2 separate regions of the Homo sapiens genome follow, and region 1 is linked to region 2. The links are contacts of gene promoters, found by promoter capture Hi-C in human tissues and cell types (Jung and others, 2019). All regions are on one chromosome and are shown on one strand. The core of a region is centred on a gene start or on the middle of the fragment in contact, and the rest is flanking DNA. Distances in the headings are between cores, read along the strand shown.

Evidence for each region. The method cuts DNA at HindIII sites, captures the fragments that hold promoters and counts their contacts. A contact is called where the count stands out against the background at its distance.
Region 1: a contact is called between the fragment with the promoter of AOC2 here and a fragment that was not itself captured in region 2, in 10 of the 25 tissues and cell types used here (H1 embryonic stem cells, IMR-90 fibroblasts, adrenal gland and 7 more).

Annotation. Positions count from the first base shown.
Region 1 is chr17:42,843,312-42,846,011 of GRCh38, forward strand. AOC2 (amine oxidase copper containing 2) reads left to right here and starts at 1,269. Exons shown (of 4, transcript NM_009590.4): 1 at 1,269-2,700. The coding sequence starts at 1,316. PSME3 (proteasome activator subunit 3) reads left to right here. Exons shown (of 11, transcript NM_005789.4): 11 at 1-449. The HindIII fragment of the contact is 18,620 bases long and covers 1-2,700 here.
Region 2 is chr17:42,601,684-42,604,383 of GRCh38, forward strand. All of the region lies in intron 1 of RETREG3 (reticulophagy regulator family member 3), which reads right to left. Among named protein-coding and RNA genes, the nearest start is that of RETREG3, 6.3 kb to the right of the region's middle. The HindIII fragment of the contact is 8,726 bases long and covers 1-2,700 here.

The DNA of each region.
Region 1 (2,700 bases), core at 19-2,518, 240 kb after region 2:
CACCCACCTCCATGGACACCTAGCCACCCTGTTGTGTGTCCTTATGCCAGTTGAGCTGAATCTTTTCCCCAGTATAGTGGAAAGACTGAGGCTTCTGCCTACTGAGCAAGGTTGGGTGCTTCATTTGTGTTCAGTCTGAATTATGGGAAAGTTAGCTCTTCCCAGACCTAAGCTGCCTTCTCTCCCTACTTTCAGAAGATCCTAGTTCCTTCCTTCCCGAGTGATACCCATGAACTGCCAGTAGAGGCTGCTATCGTTCCATGTGTAAGGAATGAACTGGTTCAAGGCGCGTCCTACCCAGTCATTTTCTTTACCTTATACTAATTCTTCCTGAATAATGTCTTCAGTTTCTTGAGGAGACTCCTAGTTTTGGTTTTCAAATTACTTGGAGGGCTGCCTAGGAATCTATCTCCCTCTGAAATAAAGTTTCCTCATCTTCCACCTTGCAAGTAGCCTTCTGGTTTCCAATGATCCCCTCGTTGTCTCTGTAAAAAGAGTTTAAGGTCTTGAACAATGGAGGAGCAGCTGCTCTGTTCTGTTTCAGAGATGACTACCAAAAGCTAGCGGTTTGTGAGTGCCTCCCCTGTGCCAGGCTGTTAAGTACCTAATGTGCATGATCACATTTAATCTTCAGGAATCTATAGGATAGTTGTATCTATTTGTTACAGATGAGGACACTGAGACTCAGGATAAGTATTTCCGCTAAGGTTACACAGCTGAGGGAACTGGGATTGGTGGACAAACCTGATTACTAAGCCCAGGCCCTCAGCCACTCCACTGGTTGGAAATGGCCTGACTACAAATCAAGGGCTTGGCATTAGGCAACAAGTAGAATTCAGTGCTTACTGCTGAACATGGCAGTGAATCCTGGAGCTGTTGGGATGCAGTTCCTGCCAGGAGGTAGGAAAATGGACAGCTTAGTGCTTGCATGCAGGCTGCAGAACTTAATTGGGCATCTGAGGTTTGTACTCTTCCTGAGACCCATTCCAGGTGGAAACTGGAGGTTAGCATCGTTAACCCAGATTCCCTTTCATCTGGTCTAAATGATGGAAATCAGTAGTTGGTACTGACTGCTACCAGTGGGAGTTCAGGGGCAAGGAAGAGGCTATGCATGTGGAAGCAGTGCCCTGGGCCAAACCACAGGACAGAAAATTGGAACAGAATTACATAAATCAAGGTCAGAAATTTCCTGCCCAACCCATGGGGTGGAGTTTTCTCCCTTCCTATCCATCCTAGCGAATATAAACCCCGACTTGATGTCAGTAACTGGAAGGAGCAGCTGTTAGAATTCTGATTTCAGCTCTCAGCATCCACCATGCATCTCAAGATAGTCCTGGCGTTCCTGGCACTGTCCCTCATTACCATCTTTGCCCTGGCCTATGTTTTGCTGACCAGCCCAGGTGGTTCCAGCCAGCCTCCCCACTGCCCCTCTGTATCCCATAGGGCCCAGCCCTGGCCACACCCTGGCCAGAGCCAGCTGTTTGCAGACCTGAGCCGAGAGGAGTTGACAGCTGTGATGCGCTTTCTGACCCAGCGGCTGGGGCCAGGGCTGGTGGACGCAGCCCAGGCTCAGCCCTCGGACAACTGCATCTTCTCAGTGGAGCTGCAGCTGCCCCCCAAGGCTGCAGCCCTGGCCCACCTGGACAGGGGGAGCCCCCCACCTGCCCGGGAGGCACTGGCCATCGTCCTCTTTGGTGGACAACCCCAACCCAATGTGAGTGAGCTGGTGGTGGGGCCGCTGCCTCACCCCTCGTACATGCGGGATGTGACTGTGGAGCGTCACGGCGGGCCCCTGCCCTATCACCGTCGCCCGGTGCTGAGAGCTGAGTTTACACAGATGTGGAGGCATCTGAAAGAGGTGGAGCTACCCAAGGCACCCATCTTCCTGTCGTCCACCTTCAACTACAATGGCTCTACCCTGGCAGCTGTGCATGCCACCCCTCGGGGCTTGCGCTCAGGGGACCGAGCTACCTGGATGGCCCTCTACCATAACATCTCAGGGGTTGGTCTTTTCCTTCACCCCGTGGGGCTGGAGCTACTACTGGACCACAGGGCCCTGGACCCTGCCCACTGGACTGTCCAGCAGGTCTTCTACCTTGGGCACTACTATGCAGACTTGGGCCAGTTGGAACGGGAGTTTAAGTCTGGCCGGTTGGAAGTGGTTAGAGTCCCTCTACCTCCACCAAATGGAGCTTCATCCCTGAGGTCTCGGAACTCTCCAGGTCCTCTTCCCCCTCTTCAGTTCTCGCCCCAGGGTTCCCAGTACAGTGTGCAAGGAAACCTGGTGGTATCCTCCCTCTGGTCATTTACCTTTGGCCATGGGGTGTTCAGCGGCCTGAGGATTTTTGATGTTCGGTTCCAGGGTGAGCGAATAGCCTATGAAGTCAGTGTCCAGGAGTGTGTATCTATCTATGGTGCCGATTCACCCAAGACGATGCTGACTCGCTATTTGGATAGCAGCTTTGGACTCGGCCGTAACAGCCGAGGCTTGGTGCGGGGAGTGGACTGCCCCTATCAAGCCACGATGGTGGACATCCATATATTAGTGGGCAAAGGGGCAGTCCAGCTGCTTCCAGGGGCTGTGTGTGTATTTGAGGAAGCCCAGGGACTGCCCCTTCGAAGGCACCACAATTACCTTCAAAATCATTTCTATGGTGGTTTGGCCAGCTCAGCCCTTGTGGTCAGGTCTGTGTCATCTGT
Region 2 (2,700 bases), core at 73-2,572:
GTGCAGTGGCGCGATCTCGGGTCACCACAACCTCTGCCTCCCAGGTTCAACGGATTCTCCTGCCTCAGCCTCCCAAGGTAGCTGGGATTACAGGCATGCGCCACCATGCCCGGCTGATTTGGCATTTTTAGTAGAGATGGGGTTTCTCCATTGTTGGTCAGGCTGGTCTTGAATTCCCGACCTTAGGTGACCTGCCTGCCTCGGCCTCCCAAAGTGCTGAGAATTATAGGCATGAGCCACTGCGCCCAGCCAAAAGTTTCCAATTTTTTGATGTAATAAAAGCTGAACTATACATCACTGAGCATGTTACTGGGTCAAAGGCATTAACTATTTTAAACAAATAGCTTTATTGGTCGGGCACCGTAGCTCACACCTGTAATCCCAGCCTTTGGGAGGCCGAGGCAGGTGGGTCACTTGAGGTCAAGAGTTCAAGACCACTTTGGCCAACATGGTGAAACTCCATCTCTACTAAAAATACAAAAATCAGCCAAGACATGGTGGTGCACGCCGGTAGTCCCAGCTACTTGGGAGGCTGAGGCAGGAGAACTGCTTGAATCTGGGAGGCAGAGGTTGCAGTGAGCTGAGATCATGCCACTGCACTCCAGTCTGGGCCACAGAGTAAGACTCCGTTTCAAAAAAAAAAAAGTAAGAAAATAGCTTTATTGAGATAATGGTTTGTATACGATAAAATTCTCTTTCAATTCATCTGCCAGCAGCAGAGATGAAAAAAAAATCACAATGCTGTACGACTAATAGCCTTATGTAATTTCAGAACATTTTCATCACTCCAAAAGAAACCCATACCCATTAGTATTCTTTCTCCATTTCCCCCAGCCCTGGAAAAGCTTCTTAAGTGGCTTAAAATATGTTACCAAACTACTTGCTAGAAAGGCTGTCCAATTTATGTTCCTATCAGCCATATGCCCATTTTTCCATATTTTCCCCAGAATTAATTATGATCATTAAAAATACTTAAGGCCAGGTGTGGAGGCTCACACCTGTAATCCCAGCACTTTGGGAGGCCAAGGTGGGTGGACTGCTGGAGCCCAGGAGTTCAAGACCAGCCTGGGCAACATGGTGAAACCTTGTTTCTACGAAAAATACAAAACAATTAACCAGGTGTGGTGACACACACCTGTAGTCCCCACTACCTGAGAGGCTGAGGTGGGAGGATGGCTTGAGCCCAGAGGTTGAGGTTGCAATAAGCCATGATCACACCACTGCTCTCGAGCCTGGGCGACAGTGAGATCCTGTCCCCCGCCAAAAAAAAAACTTAAGATAGAAATTAGTAAATAATTTCCATTTACATATATTTGAATTCTTTTCTTATTTGTGAGAGTGAAATTTTATATATCCATTGATTTTTTTTTCCCCTTTTGTGAACTGTCCCTCCACTCTGTCAGGGACTAAAATCCAATTAAATGATCAGTCTAAATAAAATATCCCTGGAATAGCAATTGGTGTCCAGAAACATCGTGAGAAATTCCAGAACCAAACATAAACTTTTGTGATTAACTATACCATGGAGCCTCACTATTAGTACCAGTAAATTAAAGTTTGCTATAATCATAAATAATGACCACATGTCTATTTTCAAAGACATGATTTCTAGGTTCCTTTGTTATTACAGATTAAGATTGTCTCAAGGGCACTTCAAAACAAAGCATCCCATTCTACAGGGACAGAAAGCCTGTTACTGTACAGCACTTGTGACCGCCTGGTTAATGAGCCCAAGTCACCGGTAAATTCAAAGGAAAAATTAACCCAACCTATATCATGCAGTGACAGTTGTTGCTTGCAAAAAAACCAGAAATGAAATCAGCTAGCTGCTAACAGTGGAGAGAAAGCACTCAACCATACAATTAGGGCAGATAAAAACTAAAGGTAAAGAGAGGGGAAGTAAATAAACCAAGGCATCCTTGGGAGTCTTCTCGGCTCACAAAGACAAGAACCCTGCAAAGACTATCATCAGGAACATTCACTCAACAGATTTCATTAGAAATCTGATGTGTAGCCGGGCGCGGTGGCTCACGCCTGTAATCCCAGCACTTTGGGAGACCGAGGCGGGCGGATCACGAGGTCAGGAGATTGAGACCATCCTGGCTAAAACGGTGAAACCCGGTCTCTACTAAAAATACAAAAAATTAGGTGGGCATGGTGGCGGGCGCCTGTAGTCCCAGCTACTCGGGAGGCTGAGGCAGGAGACTGGCGTGAACCCGGGAGGTGGAGCTTGCAGTGAGCCGAGATCGCGCCACTGTACTCCAGCCTGGGCGACAGAGCGAGACTCCGTCTCAAAAAAAAAAAAAAGAAAAGAAATCAGATGTGTAGATTTTTTTTAACAGAACAAATATCTCTACTTAAATGGGCTCCCCATCTTCCATTTCTTGTTTCTATTATTTTTTACTCAAATCCTAACCTTCTAACTCAGAATTGCTGTATATCCTTAATCACTTTTTTGGGTCATTTTTATTTATTTATTTTTTTGGGGGGGCGGACAAAAATAAAATTTTTACATTTCATTTGTGAAATAACAAATTCTATAATAACCTCCTAGAAATACAGTATGGTTCACTGAGACTAGTGACTGCAAAAAGCAGATCCCAACAGAGATCTCTACTTGGGACTCAGCTTGTGGACTGCTCCAAAACAATATTCCTAATTCATAGACTATGTAGATTCACAGATTGTTAAAAACCACAA